7 separate regions of the Homo sapiens genome follow, and all the other regions are linked to region 1. Evidence: promoter capture Hi-C in 16 types of primary human blood cells and fetal thymus (Javierre and others, 2016). All regions are on one chromosome and are shown on one strand. The core of a region is centred on a gene start or on the middle of the fragment in contact, and the rest is flanking DNA. Distances in the headings are between cores, read along the strand shown. Region 1 holds the start of OTP (orthopedia homeobox). Region 2 overlaps AP3B1 (adaptor related protein complex 3 subunit beta 1). Region 3 overlaps AP3B1 (adaptor related protein complex 3 subunit beta 1). Region 4 overlaps AP3B1 (adaptor related protein complex 3 subunit beta 1). Region 5 overlaps AP3B1 (adaptor related protein complex 3 subunit beta 1). Region 6 has its middle 210 kb from the start of TBCA. Region 7 has its middle 190 kb from the start of TBCA.

Region 1 (3,699 bases), core at 899-3,398:
AGCCCCACCCAGGTGGGCAGAAACCTCCTGCGAGTCCCTGGACGTGCGCGGGCCGGTGCGTACTCCCGAGTCACCGTCCTGAGCTCACGCCGCCCCTCCCTGGGCTGCTGTCTGGCCTCCTTTTGCTGTGCGCTCCCAGCGCTCTAGCTTCTAGATTTGAGGTTTTGTTTGGGGGCAAAGAAAGCTTTTATTGGGGAGACTTTGTTTGCTTTAGGTCTCGGAATTCTCCTCCCAGGCAAAGCGTTTCTCAGAAGGGCTGCGGCCGCTTGCCAAAAACCCTAGCGGCTCCCAGACACGCCGCGAGCCTGAGTCCACGACCCCGGCGCCCAGTCCCACATAGGCCGCGTTGGTAGCAGCTGCAGCAGCCGCTGAAACCCAGTCCGGCCCGGAGCTTCCCGGGAAGCGGTCTCCGCAGCTCAGAAGAAACTGGTGTGGCCAATACCCTGCATTCACACGTGTGTGCATATGTGTGCGCGCGCACGTGTGTGTGCAGGAGAGGAGGCGAACGGGCTGCAGGAGGGAAGGAGGAAACAAAACTGCCCGAGAGTTCGCTTTGCCGCCTCCTTTGTCTCCTTGCTCGGTCCCTGTCACACATACAGCTGAGGACACACACACACACACACACACACACACACACACACACAATTCCTCTCGCATCTGCTCTCAGCCAGCATTTTCAATGTTTTGTCTAAGTCAATTGGACGGCGAACAAAAAAAGCCATTTGCTCAGTATTATTTAAAACAGACTTCATTGGGCCACCCTTTTGTGGAAGGTTTATTTGCACTAAATGAATAATCTTAATTGCATCACTCTCGAATTAAAAATCAATGTTAATCAAGTTGGGAGTAGTAAATATCAGTTTTCATTGTGACTGGGTAGAGGGCATTTTTCTTGTGTTGCAAATAAAAATACAAGTCAAATAACTTTAAAAGGGCATTATGTTCTGCTACAAATACAATTGAAACGGATTGTTTAGGAGCAGATCAGAAATGGTACAGAATTTTGCACTTAATTTCCTCAGTTATCATTTACAATAAGAACCTCTAGGCTTGACAGCCAAGTCTAAACAGTAGTAAATTAGTACAAATTTATACTGATTTTACTCTAATAATCGTAATAAAAGCTTATAGATTTGGCACTAATTACATAAATGCCTAATGATCTTGAAAATTACTCTGGTTAGAAATATATTACTAATCTAAACTTTGTTGTTGGCTGGCTCTGAAAAATCAGAACATTAGAAATGGTTCGCTTCACTTGTGCAAAGCACTTTAAATTGTTCAAGTAGTTTAACATATTCAAGAGGAAAATAAAGAGCATTTAACTTTATTTACAGCCTTAAGTGGAGTTGGGAGCCGAGCTGAACTTAGAAACTTTGACCAAAAGAGCGAGTTAGGGGCGAGGATGCGGGCGTGGGCCAAGCGGAAGAGCAGGAGCCGGGAAGAAGCCCGGTGAGAAGAGTGCAGAGCGCTCGAACCCACACTCCGCGAGGGTCCCCAAAGCAGACAGCGGGCGCTGGCGGTGCCAGGGAAGCCGACTCCTCTTTGCGCTCTAGGCCCACTGTGGGGTTGGGGCTCGTATAGACCCCAGGGCACAGCCAGGGCGCCTGGACCCTAGGCGCAGGCCTACTGAGCCGCGGCGAAGTCCAGGCGTTGTCTGAAGGCCGCGGTGTGCCCTCGTCGCGCCCTGGGCTGGCGGGCCAATATGAGCGGCAGGCCCAGAGAGCGCAGGTGGGGGCGACCCTCAGGTCACGCCAGGGTCATGGCCCGCTCTGACCCCTGCTCTGCCCCTGCCCTAGGAAGATGTTAGCTCAGAGGCACAGAGCTACGCCTTCGAAGCGCGCAGCGCCGGCCAAGGGGAAGGAAAGGGGAGCCTGGAGAAAATCGCAGGGAAGAACTAGAGGGAGCCGGGCCCAGAAGCTCAGGGCGAGGCCGAGGCGGCTGAGGCTGCTTTAGCTCCTGCTCCGGGCTGGAGCTGCCAGGGCTGCCGCCGCCGCCTCCTTCAGGCGGGCGCAGGCGAGCGGGCGGGCGGAGTGGGGGACTCTCCGGGCGCTGACATTTGCAGGCTGCCCTCCTGATTGGTCCCCTCGCCGAGCTGCTCACGGGTTCATTCAACTGTTAAGCACCTCCCCGTCTCTCTAAAGGACATTATAATGCAAGAAGCCCCCTTTTTAACCACAAACCGAATTTTCTTTCATTTAGGTGATCTATATATATCTATATCGTATAGCTTATAGCTTATATCTATTTTAAATAACTTAAAGCCGCTAAAATTTGGGGGGGAACAGCTTTCGCCCTGGAGCGGTGCGCGATGCTGTCTCATGCCGACCTCCTGGACGCCAGGCTAGGTGAGTGCGCGCCTCTCGCCCGGGCAGCCAGGAGAAGCCGGGGCAGGAAATTGTCAATTTGTTCCTTATTTTACCTTAATGCGACCTAAATGGACTAATTTCTTTAAAAGTAATTGTGCTGCATTAAAGTTTAATTTGATTTAACATCGCCTTTAAAAAAAAATCTATGGAATATGTAGATCCAAGAAAGGAGTTGGGGAATGTTGTTACTTTTTGTTTTTCTTATTTTTCTCTTCCCCCCTCCCCCGCCTTTTTTTTTTTTTCGAAAGGCGATATACCCCGTGATAATTTGTTAGGAGGTGTTTCTCTCTCTTTTTTCCCTCTCCTGTTTGTTTTGATTTGGGATTTCTTTCTCCTTCCCTCCCCCCGTTTCTCTCTCCCCACCATCTTCTTCTCTCCTCCTTTTCTAAGTGTGGTGTAATTTGTAAAAAATCTGGCATAAAGGAGAAGCTGCTGCCATCAAGGCGGATTTGCTAAGTGTGCTGGTTGAGAAGGAGAGAAGCCAAATTCAACCTCACAGTCATCCCCCCCTCTTCTGCAAGGGACTCAGCGTTGCCAATGGCTGTGAGGAATGCGCCTTTTATTTCTCTGGAAAGAAAAGTTGAAATCTCTAAAGTTTGATTCACGGTTGTCCATAGAGTTCACTCGAGTTTCCTTAATGCTATCTGGGTTGCTGAGCTCTGGGTTTCCGGATTGGGAATCTTCGGTGATGGATGTGACTCCATTTTCCAAACACTTTCTCTGATTTGAGGGGGAGGCGGAGCTGATTTGGGTTGATTTCGGGGGGTGAAAGCTTGGAGGCTTATTCATCTTCCGAAAGTAAGAGGGAATCGGCTGAGGGCCGGAGGTACAGTTCGTCAGGCTGCCGAAGCGCAGGTGCCGCAGCAACCGAGGAATTGTTTAATTTTCTTTCTGCCCCCCGCACCCCTGTGTCCAAAGATTTGCTCTCGATTTCCTGGGGCGCCTGGGGTACGGTTTATGGAAGGGATTCAGAGGCATGTTTTATTGCCGGGACTGGGAGTGTTTTATTGTGGGAGAGACGAAAGCTTGTGCTGTTTACTACGGGAGCCGGCTGCGGCGAGGGCAAGGGGCCGGGAGATATTATTCCAACCCGGCTGTCCAAATTCTGGGGAACCCAGCTGAATACCCTGGGAGTTTCTTCCTTAGGACAAGCGCGGGTGCGGAGGGGGCCGAGGACGGGTTGAAGGAAGGCTGCGCGGGGAAGACAGCCCCTCCTGGCATCGCCAAGAAAGTAGTGACCGCGATCCCCTTGCCTCCTCAGGTATGAAAGATGCCGCCGAGCTTCTGGGCCACCGGGAGGCGGTGAAGTGTAGGCTGGGCGTGGGGGGCT
Region 2 (3,699 bases), core at 786-3,285, 510 kb before region 1:
GGTATTTTGGGGTATAAGAGCATTCCTACAACTTACCTTTATTGGTTAAGAAAACAAAATGTGACCAGGTGTGGTGGCTCACGCCTGTAATCCTAACTAACACTTTGGGAGGCCAAGGCGGGTGGATCACCTGAGGTCAGGAGTTTGAGACCAGCCTGGCCAACATGGTAAAACCTCGTTTCTTCTAAAAATACAAAAATTAGCTGGGCGTGGTGGTGTGTGCCTGTAATCCCAGCTACCTGGGAGGCTGAAGCAGGAGAATCGGTGGAACATGGGAGGTGGAGGCTACAGTGAACTGAGATTGTGCCACTGCACTCCAGTCTGGGTGACAGAGCGAGACTCTGTCTCAAAAAAATAAATAAATAAAAATAAAAAATAAAATTATATGTTTACCTGGAGAGATAGCTAACACAAATGCAGTAAAATGTTAACATTTGGGGAATCTAAGTGCAGGGTATCCAGAATTTTTTTTACTCTTCTTGTAAGTCTGAAATTATGTAAAAAAAAAATAAATAAATAAAGCAATAAATATTAGTTCCAACTCCATCACTTACCAGCTCCGTCCTTATGTTAAAGTCTTTATGCCTCACTTTTCCCATGTGTCAAATGATGATCGTAAAAGGACCTACAATATAGTATTATTATAGGTATTAGCTTAGTTAATATGGTAATGCCCTTGGAACGCTGGCTGGCACATAGTAGTGCTGCATTATGTGTTTGTCATTCTATCTTCATGCTCTTCTTCCCTTTAAAACCAAAGTTTTTGAAAGAACTATCTGCAACAAGTTTTATTCCTTTACGTCAAACTCCCTCCCCGTCACAGTTGGATTTTGGTTCTCCAGCACTTCATTAACTATGCCTTTTCCAAGGTTACTATCTCCTTTCTAAATCCAGTGGATACTTTTCTGTCCCTATCTTCCTTGATCTTTTCTTAGCATTGGACTACGCTAACTACTTCGTCCTTTTTGAAATAGTCTCCTCATGGCTTCTGTGATTTTTCTCTTCTGGTTTTTCTTCAAACTCTTCAGCTATTTCTTCTCCATTGTGTTTGCTTTTTACTATGCCTTTTTCTTGAGTGCTGGTTAATGTTTTGCCAAGTGATGTTCTATAATAAATGCAGATGTAGTTTAGGGAGGAGTATATTATTTCCTTTTTTGAAGATGGGTTAATCTGTATTCTCATTCTCTTCAGAGGGATCATTTTTGTGTAGTCAAGGGTAATGGATCACAAGATTTAGAACCTGCCAGTCAAGACCAATTTTAAATATCTCTGGTGGCAAAATTGTCTTTCCCTTAGGGTGTTAGTAAAGCTTGCAAGGCAGTTACACATTTATCTTAAAGCTAAAAAAAAAAAAAAGTATGGCTTACAGGAGTCATTTAGCATCTGAACTTCCACCCCATCTCTCAGCGGAGAGTTACTTTGTATTCATATCTGTTCTTACTGTTGATTCTAATGATCAAAGCCAAGACTTCTCATAGAGATTGTGTATGAGAGATGTAGGGGTTAAGAGAGTAATTTGAAAACCGGATGACTTGGATTCACAGTTGGTCTGTACCTTTTACTAGCTTCATGAACTTAAGCAAGTTACTTGACTTCACTATGCTCCAGTTTTCTCATCTGTACAATGGGGATCATAGTACTGACAACCTTAGAGCTCTGTTGGGTGGAATGAATGAGTCAATGCATGTGAAGCACTTAGAACAGTGCTCGGTGTAAGCTGTTATTAAGGGAATATTGAGTGTTTTTTGAAGAAGACAGACTATGGTAAGGTTTTAATTTTGTAAGCTTTCTTATTGCCTCTTTTATATTTTACTTATTTAAAATAACTCCTATAGAGCATATCATTTGCCAGGCACTATTCTAAGTACCTTAAAAATATAAATTATTAATTTTTAATAGCAACACTTCAAGGAAAGTTCTCTTAATATTCCTATTTTATATTTGAGAAAACTGAGGCACAAAGAGGTTATGTAACTTGCCCAAGGTCACATAGCAGCAGGTCTGCTTTCTTAACCAGTGCATTATGTTGTATCTCACTTCCATTTATAATCTATCTGTTTAAAAATTTCACTTTATTTAACAAATATTTAAATTGTCACCGGTCCTTTTTCTGTATTCAGTTCACATACCTACTCAGTGACCTAGCCAAGGTTTTTTTTATTATTTCCTTTTGCTTCCCTCAAGTCATTGACAAATTGGGAATTAGAGTGACATGATCAATGTCTACCGCAGTGTAGAACAGATGTTTGACATTACTTTGATGGGAAATGAGAGGTTAAGCTTTTTTTCTCAAAGCCGCCGAAATGGACATCTAGCATTCCTATCCACCAAGCATCAAAATTCAGTCGTGTCTCTAGTCATTGTAACACTGCTCATATTTAGTTACTTCCTACGAAGTGATACAGCCCCCAGGAAGAACCACTTGTCTAACCAATAGCTAATGAACTAGCACAGAGAACTCTAGATGGAAGAAGACAAAGAAGAGAGATATATAGGTGACTGTATATTTACACATGATTATGAGGTTGGTGCAAAAATAATTGTGGTTTTTACCACAATGGCAAAAACCTCAATTCCTTTGCACCAACCTAATAAATGTATAGCAATAGACTAGGAATGTCTAACCAAAGTGCTAAATTTGAACTCTTGATAAAGAAGGGGGCATAATATAAGGAAAATTCTATTAACCTAGAACTAAAAACATTGAATATTCAGGAAAACTGAGGAATGAGATTAAATGGAGGTCAGAATAAAAGAATGTTAAAGGTTTTGTGGGAGGAAGAGAGTGGAGAGAAGTGAAATTATTATGGTAGTCTCATCTGGTGTTCAAAAAGTAGTAAGGTAAAAATAATTATCTTGAGGTGAAAACCATGGGTTTTAGTGAGGGAAATAGTTAATACCTTGTTTACAGGTAATGGTAGAGAAGTATGTATCTGATTATGAGAAGGAACTAGGAGTTCTGTATCTCCCCAGACTTCTTGTGCAAAATTTAGTTAAAACTTGTGCTAGTAAACTCGTTCTGGTCCTGTTTAGAAAGGAAGAGGCAATTATAAGTACTAGGGCTTCAGGAGAGTGCAGCTGCTATACATAAAACCTGTAACAGTGTATGAGGCCTGTATCTGGCAAACCCTAGGCTTTCTTGGAAGAAAACTTTCTTCTATTTGAGTATATTCATGTCCAGGGATACAGAAGATACTTTTGATGTGTAAACTTTCTTTTTCTCGCTCATTCTCTCTCTTTCCCTTTTTTTTTTTAATGGAGTCTTGCTCTGTCACCCTGGCTGGAGTGCAGTGGCGCAATCTCATCTCACTGCAACCTCCACCTCCCAGGTTCAAGTGATTCTCCTGCCTCAGCCTCTGAGTAGTTGGGATTACAGGCATGCGCCACCGTGCCTGGATAATTTTTGTGTTTTTAGTAGAGATGGGGTTTCCCCATGTTGACCACGCTGGTCTCAAACTCCTGACCTCAGGTGATCTCACCCCAGCCTCCCGAAGTGCTGGGATTACAGGCGTGAGCCATGGCACCTGGCTGATGCATCAACTTTCTCAACAGTTGCTGGACTATAAGCCAAATAAGTACAGTCTTACAGCTCTATATAGCAAAGCTTATTTTTTTCAGCTTTTGTTTTTCTCAGAAGATAACCATTAATAGATACAAAAATATGGTGAGAATTCAGTATTCACAAAGGAAAATAAAGGA
Region 3 (3,699 bases), core at 777-3,276, 480 kb before region 1:
CAAAAGAATGGACCCCAGCAGGAAAAGCAAAGCAAGAGAATTCTGCTAAGAAGTTTTATTCTGAATCTGAGGAAGAGGAGGACTCTTCTGATAGTAGCAGTGACAGTGGTGGGTTTTATAATTTATTGGCATATATTATTTACATAGTAGATTACATTCTATATCTCAGAAACAAGGCCTAATCCATAATATTCAGCAGGTAGTTTTAAGTGAAGTTTGTATTATCAAAATAATCCCTTTCATTTATATATCACTCTTTAGTTTTCAAAGTAATTTTTAATTACTAAATTCTCTTTTTACTTTACAATATCTCTTGGATAGTAGCTGATACATTGGTATAGCTGAAACAGGAACTCATACTTTTCTGAATTCTAAACCACAATGCCTAATATATCTATTGAAAAACATAATTTTACACTTGATGAACTTTTAGTGGGGTCTTTAAAAGTAACTTTCTTTTACAAAAACGTAAAGTTTATTTTATACCTTGAAGAGTCTTTTTCTCTTTCATTTTATACTTATCTCTTTCTGTGAACCTCTATAGAGATAAAGCTAAAATTATTAAGTCTCTATATACTATAAAAAAATCAAACTAAAGGTTGAGGGTAACTATATGCAGTGAAAAGAATGCTTAATAGGAAGGATTTAGAGGCCCTGGCTTTTACCTATGCAAATTGAATAAGGCACCTACTTTTCTCTATATCAGATAAATGAAGGGGTACAGTTAAATATTTCTTAAAGTCCCTTCATTGCTAAAATTCTGTGAGTGATTTGCATAATGAAAAATAGATTGTAGTCACTTTCTGATGCTCTTATTAACACTTAAGCTAATAGGCAAATCTGACCCAAGACCAAACGACACCCAACTTTCTCTAAAATCTTTATTCCTTGGAGAACCAGGGCCTGTCACTCTTACATGGTTATCTGCTACCCTACTGTAAGGTAATTCACTCTTCTTTTCTCTGTCTTCCTTATCAAAAATCTTTGTTTTTAGTATCTGATAAATTAATCTGTGATACATTACCTGTAATTTCTTTCATTGTTTATAGCATAAGCCAGTTATCTGACTTAATATGTATGTGCGTGTAACTTGGATATTACCACAAATCTAAAATGTCCTTATTTAGTAGCTTTATTTTAGTAAAATAAACTTTCCTGTTTGTAAATGATGATAATGATGAGTGCCTTACCCTGTGGCAGACCCTGTTGTGTTCTAATCTCCTTTGTATGTTTCAAATCATTTAATCTTCACAACAGCTCTGAAAAGTAACTAGTGTTATCCCCATTTGCTGAAAAGGAAACCAAAACCCAGAGAAGTTGAATAACTTGTTCAGTTTTACAACTGGCAAGTAGAAGAGCCAGGATCTGAATCCGAACACTAACTTGAGAACCCATGCTTGTACCCCTTGTAAGCCGTCTTAAAACAATACAGGCAGTCCTAGGTTTTCACTGTGATGGACCTTCCTGATGTTGGTATTATTTAACCATTAGAATGTTTAATTAAAGGTTATGTTCCTGCCTAAGAGGGCTTCGTTACATAGATCACAGGCAGGGCAACAGTTTGTCCTTTTGTCTGGGACACAACTCTGTAGTTATAGTCATTTTAAATAGTAAAAATTATGCTTCACTTAAAAAATACACATATATTCTTCATGTATTCTCTTCTGCGAACAGTCCTAGCATACCATAATTTACACATAAAACATTTAAAAGTATAATTCCTCAGTGTAACTTGATCATCTCTTTGACCTATGGAAAACTCGTTTACTAGCTCGAATAAGTAATAACTCTTTAATTAGTCATTTTGCCTATTGTCTTTGAATTTGGAGGTCTTTCCAAGTGATTTGAATGGCTCATTTTCCTCTCAAAATTTGTTCCTAAGAAGATTCAACTGTTGCCTTCTTTTACTCTAAATAGAATTTCCCATTACAAGCAGAAGAATTCAAAATTATTTCTTTAGCCTTACATCAATCCTTACGTAATTCTTTAAAAGAAAGTTTTTGACATAGCTATATACTTTGGGGTTTGAAGTGAGATTCCCTCAAATTTGGTTTACTTGGTTCACCTTTGCTTAGCTTTTCTCTCCTCGTTGTCAGAGCATCCTCTGTCTGCCTCCCTCCAAGCTCACAGTGCTAAAGGAATCCATAGAGCTGAAAGAATGGGGTGTGGGAATAAAATGTTAAACAAGTGGTGTCCACTGAACTAAAATTCAACATCTGGTTTCATTTGTGATGAATATTGACAGTTACAGGTGTCCGTGTGTCTAATTAAATGACTATAAATCTAAGAACATCTGGTTCTGTTTTTCAGAGAGTGAATCTGGAAGTGAAAGTGGAGAACAAGGCGAAAGTGGGGAGGAAGGAGACAGCAATGAGGACAGCAGTGAGGACTCCTCCAGTGAGCAGGACAGTGAGAGTGGACGGGAGTCAGGCCTAGAAAACAAAAGAACAGCCAAGAGGAACTCAAAAGCCAAAGGAAAAAGGTAACTTATTTTGTCAGAATTTCCTTCAAAAAATATTCTGTGAAAGTTTGCCCCAGGCAGAGATGTTTCTTATTAATCAAAAAATGGTGAGAGAAAAAAAGTGTGTATTTTTTTCCAGATATTAAATCTTTTTAAAATTAAAGTGCTAGTTGTTCACATTATTTTCCTACTTGTAATGCTTAGCTTTCATTTTGAACTTGAACATATCTTGGGGTTACATTTTGAAAATTGGTATAACCTTGGAAGGCTGAGTTAAGTGATCAAGCAATAGGTATGAAACACTTAATTACCTTTTGTAGCGATTTTGCTGAGGGCTAAAATTAAATCCTTCAACACTTTGCCATTATGTAACCAAGACAATTGATTTTTCTAAATAATGTTATATTAAAAAGATTATGATCCAAATATTAGAGTCAAGGGCTGTGAAGGAAGACGGTCATAAGATCTTTAAGTGTTAGCACTTTTTAAGATCTCCCATTATCAATAACATTATCATGTATTAAAGTGTCATTAAAATTTTGAGTAATTGGGTCTAATATCTTGGATTGTGCAACTCTGTTTTCCCCGCTGCTGTCAGCGAGTGGCCTCTGCCGACATGATGGTCCTTTCCCCGGGAGCCTGCTGCCCGCTCACTTGATGAGCTTGCAGCCCGGCTCAGTCGTGGCTGACAGCACTGATTGGGGCGCAGTACGCTCTCTGCTCCTTTTATTACAGACAGTAATTAAAGCAGCTCTCCCTGCCACTTCCATAACAAACACAGCATAATGCCCTAATTATGACTTTATTAATTTAAGTCAGGATTTAATGATTTTAAAAGTGATTTATATTGTTTTTCCTGTTCAGAACAAATGAAATCTGTAGGTTAAATTAATACAGGCTTTTCATCATTGCAAAGTTAAAAACCTAGTTACCAGTAAATTCTTTTCATTAGATTAACATCTGAAACTCTAAGCAGTAAGGTAAACAATAATTACCATCAAAATTGAGTGATGCATAATAAAATAACACTTTTACTTTTAAAATCTTATCTTAAAAGCTAGAAGTTGAATATATTTAGAATCATTCACTTGTTGCAGCAAAGGAGCTACTTGGTTTATAATAGCCTTGTCTTTGAGAGAAATCCTGTACTTCTGCTTTAATATCAGCATGTCTATGATGATACGAGTTATAAAACATGTCCTGTTTCTAGAAAGGGAAAGTTTTGTTCAGTGCATGAA
Region 4 (3,699 bases), core at 740-3,239, 410 kb before region 1:
GCGTGAGCCGCTGCACCCGACTGGGACTTGACTTTTCTTATATTTTCATACTATTTAAATTATTTTCAATAAATATATAATGCTGTTGTAATTTGAAAAAAAAGATTTAAAAGTATTTTCAGTGTTAATGAAGACTTGAATTAAGCTGGTGGTAGAGGGACAGAAAAGAGGAAATGAATGCAGGAGACAGTGAATTTGTTTCTAATTAATGTGAGGGTGTCAAAGATAATGCCAAGGTTCTGAGCTTGGTTATAATGGGAGAAGACACTAGCATTTTCTTTTTTATATTATGTTTTTAATCTTGTGAATGAAAAAGCAGTAGAACTGCTAAGATCACGTAATTATCACATCTTTCAAATCACAGCTTAACAATGCATAATTGTTTTGGGCTTCTGTAAAATGCTCTGGGTTCTAAAGAAATTTGTTATAACCAGTTACTGAGAACTTCATGCTGAACACTTTACAAGTCAAATTCAGTCTGTTTTTATTAGTACTCTTAAGCCAAAAGTCAGAAAAGAAATATAAAAAGAATAGGAGAACATATGTATGAATAGTATAACATATCAGTATTCATGGTTCTGGTGCTATTTACCACGTACGTGATATATAAAACAATATAGACATTATTCTGGCTTTCAGATATATAGAAAAGCAGTAAGTGTATTGATAGTGAAGTTTATTGATCTGTCTTTGGGGAGGAGAAAGAATGGGATATTAATTTCCTTATATCAAAACCATTGTAAATTGAATATATCCTATACCAGGGATCGGCAAACATTTTTTGTAAAGGGCCAGGTAGTAAAGATGTTCAGCTTTGCAGGCCACAACCACTCAACCCTGCCATTTTAATGCAACAGCAGCCACAGATAATACATAAATAAATGAGTGCATCTGTGTTCCAGTAAAGCTGTATTTATAGACACTAAAATGAATTTCATATCATTTTAATGTTACAATCATATTACTTTTGATTTTTCAACCATTTAGAAATGTGAAAGTCATTATTAGTGAACAGGCATTGCAAAAATAGACAGTGGACCAGATTTGGCCTCTAAGCATGGTTTGCTGGTGCCTGCTTAATACCGAGCATGAAATAAGATGCTCATTAAATATTTGTTCATTATGTGTTCACGTATTTCCACAAATATATTTTTAATATATATTATTACCAAAATAAGAGGTGAGAAAGTCTTGTGTGCTTTATAATGTATAGTGATTACTAAAATAAAATATGAGAAATTATCATAAATTTGTATATCAAAATTTATATACATAAGGAAGAAGTTATCTTTAGTATTAAAAACCATTTATTTGAAGTAATATTTGCTGGAAGATTCAAATATATTTCTTCGAGTCTGTGCTTATATGTAAGAGTTAACCAAATTTGCCGTTTACTTTTTTAAATCCTATTCTAGGTCAATACTAGGTTAATGCTAGCCTCAATGAAATGGATTGAAGGTAAAATCAAGACCCACTTTCTACAGTTTATAGGATAAATGAGACAATACTGTGACTTTCTGCATTACAAATCTTATCAATTGAGACATACATTGGTTTTAAAAGTACTAATTTTAAAGATGAAGCTGTGCCTCTGTTTATAGCTATTTTCTTACCTCGTCATTTTTATAAATTATATATCAAAATAGATACTGATGTAAAGTAAGCCAAACAAAACTAGATACAAAGAGCATTTTATATACTGCAGATTTTCATATCTTTGAAATTCAAAAACAGAATGGATTGATAATACTTAATGACTGGGTAACTAAATGTGGATTAAAGCATAAAAGGCTGGGAAACATTGTTTTCATAAAGCTTTACGTGGAAATGTCATCTTTGAATAGTAATGTGGATGCTGAACAAGGCTTATTCCAAGGCACTTACTTGCTATTCCATGTTTTATTTTTCGAATCTCATTTTAAATTTTATAATTCAATCATTTTGAACAGCTATGTTCAAAAGAAGTTTTACAACTTTAATCTTAATAATCTCAAAAAAAAGCAGACATGCTATGTCATAAAATAACTATTAGTGACTAGTTTGTATCCTATAAATCTAACTTGAGTTGATAATATGGTCCATTACCAGCTAACTGCACAGAGTATTTTTCATTTTACACTCTTCAGTTACTTTTTAGTGAAGTGTTAAAAAATATGAAGCTTTTCTCCTCTCTAAAATTGCACGCTGTCTGTCTGTTATTAGGGAGATAACAGCTCTTATAAATGTTTCAGTAAGCGCTAAGTAGACAGTTATGTGCACTCTCATTCCACGCTTATTTGCTTACTGTAATAAACTGATAAAATATGTGTGGTTTGTCTCTGTGTATCTACAGGCATCATGAGTCACATAGATTTCCTTTAGAAATAATGTTGTGTCTGCAGAATTGATTGCTTATTTTCATAAACCATCTAAAGGTACACAAACGACTTTTATTATTTAAACATATGCTGTGTAAAGATTTGTAGAGGATTATCTCATTGTTACTGGATGCTTTTTGTTCTGTTAACTCTTGGGGGAGGCTTGTTATTTTACAGTTACTGCAGTTACTGAACTAATTACTTCCTCACGAGCCATAGTAAAGATGACCTATATCATTTGCTTATAATGCATCTAAGTTTTTAATTCTTTGAATGTTAGTCGTTAAACAATTAAATCAAAACTAATGTTTTCAAACTTTGTCTTTCATACTCTTGTTTATATAAGTTTTAATAAAATAATACACTTATAAGTAGACATTTCAAGAATTAGTGTTTGAATTATAGAAGTCCCTCAATAAGCTGTTCTTTGTGCATTTAAGAAATGTACTTCTTTATTTGTTCACAATTTTATGTAATAGAAAATTCAAGTTATATCATAAAACCAACAAATATTAATATAGAAGATCTCCACATATCACCACAGTGTGTTCCTATAAGGCTGTAGTATTTTTAAGGACACTGTTATAATTGAGCACTCAGCATTAAATAATGTATAGTTATGACCAACACTAGAGGTATATTATTTGCAAATTTCCATAATCATTTAAAATAGTAAAATTATGCTTTGAGTTCTGAGAAAGGGTAAAATTAAGTTTAATACATTGAGCATAAAAGTGGGAAGTAGATGGGAAGACAGGTAATAAACATAACAAAAAAGTAAATTATATATTGTGTTAGAGAAGGTATTAAGTGTCTATAAAAAAGGAAAAAGGAAATCAGAAGGGAGGGATGCCAATGGGTTAAGCCTTACTAAGATGGTAATATTTGAGCAGACATACTAGAGCTGAGCCATGTGGGTCTCTGGAGAAAGTGCCTTCCAGGTAGAGGGTCCCAGGGAATAACCTATAGTGGGACTGTTACTAATATGCAAAAGGAATAGCAAGGAAGTCATGGCGATGAGTAGAATAAACAACGAGTTCAAGAGTAATAGGAAACAAGATCAAGGAAATGGAACAAGGATCCTGGCCATTGGCGGGTTTTGAGCAGAGGGGTAACATGATACAACTTTTCTTTTTCTTTTAACTTTTATTTTAGGTTCAGGGGTACATGTGCAGGTTTGTTATACAGGTAAACTCATATCACGGAGTTTGGTGTACAAATTATTTCATCACCCCAGTGCATGATGTAACTTTAACTGATACATTCTAGCTGCTGTGTTCAGGATAGACTAACATAGCAATTCAGTCTATGTTCAATAAGATGCAGGGGTAGGAACAAGGAA
Region 5 (3,699 bases), core at 695-3,194, 400 kb before region 1:
ATAATATTCCATTTTCCCCAAAGAGACCCAGTATATAAGAGGGTTTTTTTTAAGACACAAAGAATAGGTTAAGCTCTCTTTACTATATTCAGTGGCTTTATGTTAGTGGTTGACAAATTTGAGTTCAGCTAAGATTTTACCAGTTACTGTACAACTGTTACATCAAAGTAAATGGCATCCTATATGATTTCATGTGTTGATATTAATGTTGTGGCGTAACAGAGCCAGTGTTTTTCAGCCACTTCTACATAGCCATCTCAAATATATAGGAGCAAATCTAGAAATGGTGTCCAAACAGAGACACCTAATTGGGTAAGCTTTCCCAGTTTAGTCGGCTCCAAGTATTATAAAAATCCATTATTTGAATGAGTTTATGCTGATCATTTTGCTCCTGAAGCATCCATATAATAAAACATGCCATTGATCATGGACTGTCCCCCAGAATTAGTATGGCACTAAGCTCACAGTTAATTATCTTAAGACTGAAGACAGTATCAAACAGTGTCAAAGAGTGCTATCAACAAGGCATCTTGAGAGCTGTCACTTTGTCAAATGACATGCAAAGATACATGATGAAGGGAGATCTAAATCATGAAAGCCATCAAGTTTTGGAGATGACGGAATTTGCTACTAATGTGTCAGATAAAAACAAGACCAAACCCCAAAATAGTTATGGCACAGAAGGCATTAAGAATTCACTCAAGAATAGCCTGGAGCAGCGTGTGACTGACAAAGCTCTAAACTGTTGACAGCACATAGCTTTATGAGAAATGAAAAAAACATATGTATCATTATAGTTATTTACCCTACAGTAAAGCCTGTTTGCTAGAGATTTAGGGAGCAAGTCTTCTAGTATTTGAGTGGCATCCTGGAAAATGTTAGGTTTGTAAACAAATGAAATTCAAACTAGAATCAGCAAACTAACATACATACCACTGAGCAAATAGCATTTTAATTATTACTTTTTTTATTTTTAACATACTTCCTTTGCCTAACAAATAGCATTTTAAAATCAGCATTGAACAAATACTCTCTTGTAATGCTTACTCCTCATTGAGCCTATGAGATATAAACATAATACTTAATAAATGAAGCTTATTGAATTATTATTTTATCCCGACTGTACCATCATCTCTGTCGTGGTTAGCATTCAATGGCAAATCATACTTACCAAGAAGCCCTAGAATAGTCACAGTCTATTGAATTAGAAGTGTGCTTGCTAAAATATAACTACGTGTGATAGGATGTATAGAGAATAGATAAAGCTAAATATAAAGTGATTGTATGGTATAGCTGCAATTATACAGAATACTTTGAGCAAAGTAGAAATCAAAAATGGACAGTTTCTATATATAAACAAATATATACATATTTATTTAAGATCCCCTCAATTATTCTAAGATATAGCTAAACTTTCAAATCATAAGCAGAATAAAATTTTGTTCTTGTTTGCCTTAAGTTTTGTCATTGTTAACTGAAAAAAAATACTGTATTGTATATTGGTATAGTTATTTCCTATACTTGGTTAGTTGATAGATGAAGCTTCTGAAATTCCAAATCTATCAAATGTCATTTTATTTTTTGTTTTATAAAGATAATCTAATCTGCCACAAATTTTTTTGAGTATTTAATGCAATTAGACTTAACATTTTGGTTTCAATGTGAGATCTCTTAATTAATTTCTGAGTGCATCTTAATTTCTTCTTCCAACTTGATTTACATTTTTTAATTTAGGATTTTTTTCATTGAAAATTTTGGACATTGTTTAAAATTTACTTTTTATATCTAGAATAAACATGCCATAGTTTTAAGTACATAACCTCTTATGAACTCCCAAAGTCCATTACAGGTATGCGAAACAAGAACACATTTATTTCCTTCTCATTTTCAGTACCTATAGAGATAATATTAGAAAACATGACATTTCTCAGGAAGATATGTATTTCTGAAACAAATGGGTATAATGTGTTCATTGGTGTATGCGCAGAATTAATTTGTGAAAAAGAAAACCTTGAAACAGAATAGTTAGGTTACTTTGTAATTTGCTTTAATATTCTTAGTTTGAAATTTTTAAGCCATCATTACATTTCACAGTTTCAACCAAGCTACAAACATTACCTAAATTTTCAGTGTTTAGTTTGCCTCTTTTTCACATCCTCTGTGTTTTCATGTCTAAATTATCTTATTTCCTAGACTCTCTTGAGCCTGAGGGATCCATTACAGTTTCAATGGGTATTGACTTTTGTGATTCTACTCAGACTGCCAGTTTCCAGTTGTGGTAAGTTCAATTGTTCTTCTATTTTTTATATAACCTGTAAAGGATAGCAGATCAAAAACTAAGCTTTCAACAGCTTTTGTGTGTGTGTGAAAGACAAAACATTTAAACAAATATGTTTTGCTTTGATAATGTTTAGACTGCCTTGGAATAGTTGTACAAATTGTGTGTAGTATATGTATTTTTAGCATTCGTTACACACCTAGCCATTACAACCTGCCATATGTGATTGAAATCCATGGTTTGTTGGTTAAAGAAAGAAGCTACTACTAAGTAATTTTTAACTTATCACTCCAGTTTTAGAAAATTTATGAGAAAATTCATGAGGAAAATCCAGGAGAAATTAAAAGCATTAATAATATTATTAAATAGCTCAGAGAAGATATCTTTTGAGATATACATACATGTTATCTTGAGATTCTTAAGTGGAATATTATTGATGCCATCAGTACCTAAAACTCACACATTTTTTTTTTCCTTTTTACATCCATTTACAAACTGCTTTGATAAAAGTCAAAAGAGAACATTTATGCAGTTGGCAAAGGTTTCATAGCTGAATGCTGTTCAGAAGAGCTTTTTTAGGATTGGATTTTGTTGTTAATGTTTTTCTATAATGCTTTATACATTTCTTGTGAAATTCAGAGGCTATTAGCAAATTAGAACAAAGCCGTATTCATGCATCATTGAGAATTATCTTTGAACTCTTTTCTTTTTCTGATATAAGGCCCAATTGGCTATTTTGAGTTGAAGTTTCTTTGTTTTTATTCTAAAAAGAATTGAGACATTTTACCTACATTTTAGCTAGCTTAGAACAGAATTTGTTATGATTTAAAAGTCTTGAAGTTTTAGAAATAGACATTTTAAAATAAATGTATAGATTAAACATAGTGAACTTTTCATTTTCATATACCTTTTCAGTTTACCAGTAATTCTGGCCTAATGTTATACCTTTTATTGCCGAGAACCTGCAATGATAAATATAAGCAATGTAGCATAACACATTGATTTTATGCAGATCATCACCTTTATGTTTTGGGAGGTCTGCTGTATTAGTGATATATAAAAACTGATTACTTTTCCCAACATTGCCTAGTAATTGTTTATTATTTTTCTATTAGACAAACAACACAGATCAATATTACTGAACAACAGGCTATGAGTAACATCACTCTAAATAGATTTGCCTCTGACACCAGAGGTATATTCATTTTAATGATTTGGACAATGTGAACCCAATGACAAAGCTCACGTACCAAGTTAGACCAAAATTAAGAACTAAAAAAGATTCCTTTTTCTTATCAATTTGTATAAAGAACCTTTTGATTCCTATGTAATTGGATTTTTTTCCCCAATTTTATTTACAAAGACTTCCTTTATAGTCTCTTGAACAGGATTTGCATTTTGTCTTTCATAATTAACTAAGT
Region 6 (3,699 bases), core at 758-3,257, 350 kb before region 1:
ATTTAAAATCTTCATCTTTATTGTTCATCTCATGCTTTTCAAACTTCTACATTTATATGTGTTTTATAATGCACTTAATATTTTGGTCCAGAGCAGTGATACATGTATGTGTACAGTAATACATATGTATAACTAGAGACCCCGTATATAATTAGTAATACATGTATATAATGTACAATCAATAGTACATGTATATAATTTACAAATAACATGCATGTTAGAATCTCAGTCAAAACCACCTGGAAACCCCAGGACTGCAGTGTGGCTCCCAGCATGCACTGCTCTGTGCCGCTAAAATACTGACCCCAAAATGCCATTCTGAGCCCCTGGTGATTTTCTCCATAACTGTGCTTTGGGAAGAGTAGGCAGAGAGGCTTCTGTTGAAGTGTGAGGAAGTATTCCCACTTCCCAGACAATAATAAGACTTACCTTGGCCTCTACCATCCCTCACCCCTTTTTCTTCAGGGCCACTTAGAAAAGAACATTGAATGTTCAGTCACCTTAACGAAGGAGCCAAAGGAGCACAGGAGGAGGGAGATCCACTCCCTGGCAGGTTCCCTGTGCAAGGACTAATTACAGCCCACTTTGGAGAAGTCGGAGGCAGGGCACAGGAGCCGCACAGCCTCTGTTGGATGGAGGAAGGAGGGGCCAGGCAGAGGGTGGGATGGCATCTGGATCCCTCTCATCAGGAGTGAGGAATGACTCATGATTCACAAAAGGTCATTGCCTACTGAGGTAGATAAATTACCTATAAGCCTTCAGCAGAGTTAGAGGACCTATTTGGTAGGAAGTTTTCATTAAATCAAAGATTTTATGGCTTCTATTTTGTTGCATAGCAAAAGGGAAATAATTAGTAATTGACAAAGTAAGTGCAGGGAATAAAAAAGTGTAATGTTATTCTAATAGGCCCTGTCTTGGTCTTTAACTTTTCACTTGCAAGCAGCATTATTTTTTAACTCAGATGTATAAAAATCATCCACACTGAGAAAGTGGAACCAATTGCAGTTAAACAATTGAGGGGAGCACTAACCAATAATGGATAGGCTTTAAAATGCCATAAATATTGTTTCTTTTTATTGTGTTTGATTTTTGATGATTCCCATAACCCACTGGTTAAAATTAAATAGACATGGTCTTAGGTATTACTCAAATACATTTTAATGCTAAACTATATAAAGCAGAATATATCTGTGCATGTGTGTACATATATACGTACGTATGTATTATTTTATAGTTTAAAAAATCCAAGGAGTGGGTATTCTACACTTAAATACTGAGGAAAGGAAGGAAGTTGGAAAGTACATATGAAAAATGCAAATATATATATATGTGTATATATATATATAGCCCTGAGTTTCTCAGATGAGTCACTGTTTTTCTACTGATATGTCTATCTTGGAAGACCCCCAGATTATAACAATAGTGACACTGAAATTAAAATTTCTCAAGGGTGAATTCAACTTAACCTATTGGGAGTATCACTGTTGCTTATAAATTAAGCAGATTTTCACAGAATAACAAACATTGGCGCCTATCAGTGAAATGTTTACTCCTTCACATGGCCACAGAGATTTCTTTTTCATAGGATTCCTGCCTTTTTAGCCCCAATTAAATCTGCTTTGGAGGGGATTTGTGCTCCTGTGAGATTCACAGGCAATAAGAAGTAAATGATAAACAAAGTTATATGGAAAATACCAAAATGGGAGAATAGATTCACACTAATTAAAATTATTTTTTAATGCTATCTTCCATAATGAAGGGCATCCTATACTTGGCCTTAGGCTAATCCTTTTTAAAGTACATTTTCTTCTTCTATCCTCACCACAGCCAGATTTGAGAGAGGCTGTCTTCATCTGCATTTTACAGATGAGGGAACTGCTACTTGGAGAAGCTACCACCTTGCTCAGAGTCAGACAGCCGGAGAGGGCGGCTGGGCATGGCCCAAGATCTGCCTGGCTCCTGAGAACTTACAAGAAATTCCTCTGCTCTCTCTCCCAGCCCTGCAGGGACAGTATGAAATGAAGAGGGCACCTAAAATTCAGACAGATAAAGTGCCCAGTACCATGCCTGGAGCTCATTAAACATTAAATTATGGACATTATTTTATATTTAAAAAAATCCAAGGAGTGGGTATTCTCCACTTAGAAACTGAGGAAAGGATGAATGTTAGATAAGAAAAACGGAAATGTTCTCATGAAAGGTCTGTACGGGGGAACGCATGTGAGGCTGCCCCGTTTATCGGCCTTTTCAAGCGTCTCCCCGGTTTCCCAAGTTCTTTATTTAATAGCATTTTAATCATGTCAGATGATGCCATTCTTAACCATTTCCCCACAAAGACTTTCCCACTCATTAATAGATTTTGCTGTCGGGGAATGTTTCTGGATAATTATTTAGCAGCTTCTCTTCTAGATTTCTTCTCACTGGAATGCCATGAATCCTGAAATGGAGCAAACAGGAGGGCGCTCGCATTTGTGACCCTCAAGACATCAGGTGGGTTCTGGCAACGTTGCCGGAAGGTGGGTGATTTACTGGCTTTACTGCCCAGTGAGTGACAGCCACTGAGTCTCCTGACCGCCCGGGGCCTCGGGTTCTTCTTGTGGTCAGGTGGGACAGCAGAGAGATGTGTGGAAATCAGGGCGAAGCAGGTCCTCCCACGGCATCCCTCTCCCACGGGACGCCAGCATCCTTCGGTGGGGCTCTGCGTGCACCCAGGGAGCGGGGCTGGGTCTCTGGGCTTTGGGCGTCTGAGGCAGGGAAACACCCTTGGTAGCCTTCGTCCTCTTCCTATATGTTTAAATCCGGGACAATCGTACGTGAGACTTCTCCAGTCACATACATAAACACCCTGATTTCTTTTCCCCTTCACTTCAAGAGTTTGGGCCTGCCCTCTGTGACTTCTACCACACAAAAAAGGTGGGCCCTGGGGGACCTAGGCCAAATTTACCAAGGTAGCAGGGGGTTTCCTGAAGCGCTGAGGACACAGGAATTCTAAAAGGCCTTTTACAGAATGTTAATGACTCTTGGGAAATCTCCTAGTTTAACTATATTGCCTCACGAAAATTAACATTGCATTAACCTCTCTATCCTCTTCTACTTTGTTTTGAAAAAGTAGCAGACAGTTTATTCTAAAATGTAACAAACATCCTATTTGTGTTTACTTTTTATGCCACCAACAATGCACTGGGTATTGAGTTGAACCAGGCTCCAAGAGAAAATACAATTAATGAATAGTCACAAGGTTGCTAATCTGATCAATGCCGGGTGATAGGACATTTAATCTGATTGTCTGTGACTGCAATTGCACAGAGCTTTGGCAGCCAAGAGGACCGCCCTGGCTGGCAAGAGCGTTTGTAGTCTGGTCACTCCTTGGGGTGGAGGTGGGGCTGGGGAGCTGTGATGTAAACAGATGTGGGGAGGAGAGAAGGCGCCCAGAGCATGAGAGGAACTGGCTGAAAGGATCGAACACAGGGAGGTGAGCCCACAGAAAGTAGGTACCTTTCATGCCAGGAATGGGAGAGACAGCCCCATTTTTTTTTCTGAGACAGAGTCTCGAAGTGTGGCCCTGGCTGGAGCGCAATGGCCTGATCTCAGCTTACTGCAACCTCTGCCCCTCCAAGTTCAAGCGATTCTCCTGCCTCAGCCTCCCGAGTAGCTGGGATTATAGGCACCTGCCACCACACCCAGTTAATTTTGTTTGTT
Region 7 (3,699 bases), core at 853-3,352, 330 kb before region 1:
CCGCGCCGGGCCACGTGGGGGCTCTCGCCTTCCGAGCGGGCGTCGGTGGGAAACCTGCGCGGCGAGAGACAGGGGGATGGGGCGCTTTTGACGCGACTGTGGGGTGCGGGTAGTCCTGGAGGAGGATGTCCGGCCAAGCTCACCCTGCCCAGGTGCCGGATCCCCAGCCCAGGCTGCGGCCTGCTCTGGGCTCGTGAGGCGAGGCCGCAGCGCCCCGACGCCGGGTGGGCGTGTGGGTGGAGTGGAGACTTGGGTCCCTCGGCGCATGGGAGTCCCGCCGCCTGCGGTAGGGAACCGCCTCCCACCCCTGGCCCGGCCCGGGCCGGGAGCCGTGTCCCGCGTTGACTCGGTGTAACTCTCCAGCTCATTTCTCTCCACGCGATTTACCATCTGTGAACTCGTCTTTAACCTAATAAAAATCATCTGGCTTTTGACTAACAAGAAAAGGAAACAGTGCTCATTGTGGGGTTTGGGGAAAATGGCTTCACTAATGTGCAGGATGAGAACGGAGTGATTTATAGGCGGTTTTAACTGTAGGCTATGATTAGGGGGCTGGTAGTAAGTGCATTAGATGTCTAAGTGTGGCAATAGAGTAAATAGGCGTTTTATTTATCGCAGTGCCAGGGGCCTCTTAGCGGAAGAGCGCTTCTCCAAATTGAAATATAGCAGAGTTTACACTCCTGATTAGGGCTTCAAGCGCAGAGCCCAAGGCTATCAGCTAAGCAGAAACAACGCTCGCTGACACCTAATTGTTACTGGATTAATGTGCAAACAGGGACAGCGAACAGCAACAACAAATAACCTAGTGTCAGAGACGTTGGTGGCAGTGTCCACTCGCAGTGACTTGGGGCCAAATTGGAGTTTATATGTCAAAACAGGCTCAGATCAATGTGTTGGGCTCCTCCTGCAAAAGGCTGGATGGAGTCATGGCAGTTGTTGATGTATGTGTGTGTGTGGGCATATTATGTGCCGGGGAGTGGAGGAGAGCAGGCAAACGGAGGAGGTGAAATGCCTTTCCATTAATTTTTTTTCTGCTTTATGCTCCCGAATTCACAGCTATTAAGATAAATTTATGTGAATCAGGTCTTTCTCTCCAGGATCTTGTGACTTTCGCCTGTGTCTCCATATAAAATTTAATAACCTTGTTTGTGAATCAAATCATTCCCACAACAACAGATTCAATCTGGGTTGCCACCTGTCTGGCTTTGGACAGGAGCAACCGAATTGGGCAGCTGGGTTCCAGCCTTTCACGGGGGCTGGTGGTTGGTTGGCTGCCTGGCAGGTCCGTTTGCCCTGGGGTTTTCCAAAAGCAGGAGTAGATGCGGCTGACATCTGAAGGGGAAAGGGAGGACAGCCATCCATATTCCTGAGACCCGCCTTTTCTTCGAATGACCAAATTGGTGGCAGCCCTATTTAAAAAACACAAGAATTCATGAGAGTCTAAAGCAAATGGGGGAATAGGTCACCATCCAAGAAGTTCTTATGCTCACTCATTTTTCTTCTACAATTAGCCATTTAGGGAGGGAAAAAGTCACAAATACATGAATTATGTTCTTAAATGTATTTCTAAAGTTCTTAAGTTTTATCAAGCATGAAAGTTGGTCTTTCCCTGTGTTAAGGACTGAAGAAGCTATAGAACTAGCTAGTAGCTCAATGGTGCAAAGTCTTATGATTTAAACTTGACACTTGCAATTTTTTGCCGTAAAATATTACTTTCTTTATTTCAAGACTTTAGTTGAAAACCTCCTAATTCCCTTTAAGCTCCATTTGATTGTCAATTGCACAACTCTCTCTAAAGCTTAGGGCTTATGATTTTCATACACACACGATTTATGCTTTTTGTGTCACAATATAATGTACTTTGGTACAGCTCCCACTTATTTCTCTTGCATCACGAGAGATTTTCCTTTTAGAGGCTGGGAGTTTTATAGTGAAGCTGTGAAAGAGTTGTGATCTGGCTGTACGTCTCGTTGAATTGTCCAAAATTGCCATTTTTGTTGCCCTGTACAACCTTCTGTGCCACTCCATTTAATATGTTTCCAGAAAATGTTGACCTGGATATCTGCATATCTGGGTAAAAGAATGAAATTAATTTCACGATTGAAAATTTCAATAGCTGGCTGCAGAAAGATCATTCATTGCCTCAAGTATGGATAGAGAGATAGCAGAGCCAGTGTTGGATGTTGCAGACACAGATTTCCTTTAGTCCATTTGTTGTCAGTAAATCGTAAAGCTGGATTTGCAATGGCAAAATCCCAAATATGTTTTACTGGATCGATTCAATGCGTTTCAGTTGTAAAACTCTAAGGTCATCCAAGCTGCTGATTAGAGCATAACATTTAAGTTAATGCTGTATATTAACACAATACTTAAAAACAAAAATACCACAAAGAGATATTAAGCTTTCTGAAAAACCATATATTGTTATGGCAAATGTTGGAATTCATGCAGGAATTTTGTTGATCCTAATTGTTATACTTTGCAGATTTTACTTTGTTGTCTCCTAGAACTAGAAAGAAATTTAGAGATTATCATACTCTCTTTACAGCCCTACGTGCACATGAAGAAACTGAGGCCCAGAACGGTTAAATATTTTGCTTAAACCTACACACACGCAGTGAAATTTTCCAAGTATTCCTCCTATTTGTCATTATTCCAGTCAAGCCATAAGCATTATAAGTATGTGAGAAAAACATCAAATGTTTTTGTTATACCTTGTCAATGTTAATTATTCAGGCATTTATAAACATTAACATTTTTCTGGCACAAAAAACTTTTCAAATTCTTGATTTAAGAAATAATTTAAAATGGGTGTTATTCCTTGATTACATATCTAGAAATTGTGAAACAATTACAAATGTAAAGGAGTTTTCAGTATTTGAAAGTGTTGCCATGTCTTGGTTATTTGAGGTTAGGATTATATTGTTTGTTTTCGAGTTTTCTGCTTCTTTTGTCTCCCACTCTTTCTGCTCTTTTGGCTTTTTGCCTTCTCCTCCCAGCTCTACAAGGAGCATACTAATACTCAAGAAGCTGATTTTATCATTGCTGATAAAAATTTCATGAAGAAAATAGGACAGAGCTAGCAGATAGAATGGAGTTTGATTATCATACTTCTCCCTGGCTCTCCCTGGCTATCAGTACAATGGGTAAGCAAGAAATAATCTAGCCTGTAGAAGAAAAGGTAATATTTGGTAGGTTTTAAAAATAATTCTGCTGGAAAGTTACAGATTTATTTGTGTATGAATCACTCTTGGAATTCCTATGATTGCCTTTGAGGCATAAACTTCAGAATGTGTCTGAACTATTAAGCATCTACCTTGTTGGTGTAGCTAGGTGTTTAAGAGAAATACACTGAAATTAAGTTATGTTAACCAAGAAAAAAGTTAGCCCCTTACCCCCAAGTTTAGGTGTATCTGTTTAAATCTAGATCTAATCTGAAATTTCTGGTAATGTGGTCAGACTCTGGGTAGCATTTGGTAGCTCTGGAAATTATAGTCACTCTAGTGAAACTGCTGAAATCTAAGCTGAGGACATCATGGGCACTATAAACCTGGAGTCTCAGCTACAATATATACTAACCAGATCCACTCACCTCCTCTCGGCTTCACCCTGAGTGTTTGGGAATTTCTTTGTTTCTTTTTTTTTCTTCTTTTTTTTTTCTGAGTTGGAGTCTTGCTCTGTCGCCCAGGCTGGAGTGCA

The links. Contacts are between HindIII fragments. The CHiCAGO score rates a contact against its expected background, and 5 or more counts as called.
Region 2: a fragment that was not itself captured here is called in contact with the fragment with the promoter of OTP in region 1 in 3 of 17 cell types (naive B cells, total B cells and megakaryocytes); the score reaches 7.1 in naive B cells.
Region 3: a contact is called between a fragment that was not itself captured here and the fragment with the promoter of OTP in region 1, in 1 of 17 cell types (naive B cells). The highest score is 5.5, in naive B cells.
Region 4: a fragment that was not itself captured here is called in contact with the fragment with the promoter of OTP in region 1 in 1 of 17 cell types (megakaryocytes); the score reaches 5.1 in megakaryocytes.
Region 5: a contact is called between a fragment that was not itself captured here and the fragment with the promoter of OTP in region 1, in 1 of 17 cell types (endothelial precursors). The highest score is 5.0, in endothelial precursors.
Region 6: a fragment that was not itself captured here is called in contact with the fragment with the promoter of OTP in region 1 in 1 of 17 cell types (megakaryocytes); the score reaches 5.2 in megakaryocytes.
Region 7: a fragment that was not itself captured here is called in contact with the fragment with the promoter of OTP in region 1 in 10 of 17 cell types (total B cells, naive B cells, megakaryocytes and 7 more); the score reaches 16.5 in total B cells.

What each region holds. Positions count from the first base shown.
Region 1 is chr5:77,637,162-77,640,860 of GRCh38, reverse strand. It overlaps OTP (orthopedia homeobox), which reads left to right and starts at 2,148. Exons shown (of 3, transcript NM_032109.3): 1 at 2,148-2,348; 2 at 3,631-3,699. The coding sequence starts at 2,312. RefSeq lists enhancers at 1,051-1,605, 1,606-2,162. The HindIII fragment of the contact is 2,017 bases long and covers 1,127-3,143 here.
Region 2 is chr5:78,147,586-78,151,284 of GRCh38, reverse strand. All of the region lies in intron 14 of AP3B1 (adaptor related protein complex 3 subunit beta 1), which reads left to right. Among named protein-coding and RNA genes, the nearest start is that of AP3B1, 150 kb to the left of the region's middle. The HindIII fragment of the contact is 495 bases long and covers 1,788-2,282 here.
Region 3 is chr5:78,112,535-78,116,233 of GRCh38, reverse strand. AP3B1 (adaptor related protein complex 3 subunit beta 1) reads left to right here. Exons shown (of 27, transcript NM_003664.5): 18 at 1-108; 19 at 2,311-2,482. Among named protein-coding and RNA genes, the nearest start is that of AP3B1, 180 kb to the left of the region's middle. The HindIII fragment of the contact is 4,249 bases long and covers 1-3,699 here.
Region 4 is chr5:78,049,723-78,053,421 of GRCh38, reverse strand. All of the region lies in intron 22 of AP3B1 (adaptor related protein complex 3 subunit beta 1), which reads left to right. Among named protein-coding and RNA genes, the nearest start is that of AP3B1, 240 kb to the left of the region's middle. The HindIII fragment of the contact is 344 bases long and covers 1,818-2,161 here.
Region 5 is chr5:78,032,940-78,036,638 of GRCh38, reverse strand. AP3B1 (adaptor related protein complex 3 subunit beta 1) reads left to right here. Exons shown (of 27, transcript NM_003664.5): 24 at 2,194-2,278. Among named protein-coding and RNA genes, the nearest start is that of TBCA, 260 kb to the right of the region's middle. The HindIII fragment of the contact is 799 bases long and covers 1,545-2,343 here.
Region 6 is chr5:77,987,149-77,990,847 of GRCh38, reverse strand. No RefSeq gene overlaps it. Among named protein-coding and RNA genes, the nearest start is that of TBCA, 210 kb to the right of the region's middle. RefSeq lists enhancers at 2,114-2,633, 2,634-3,153. The HindIII fragment of the contact is 9,302 bases long and covers 1-3,699 here.
Region 7 is chr5:77,969,209-77,972,907 of GRCh38, reverse strand. No RefSeq gene overlaps it. Among named protein-coding and RNA genes, the nearest start is that of TBCA, 190 kb to the right of the region's middle. RefSeq lists silencers at 1-38, 119-238. The HindIII fragment of the contact is 604 bases long and covers 1,801-2,404 here.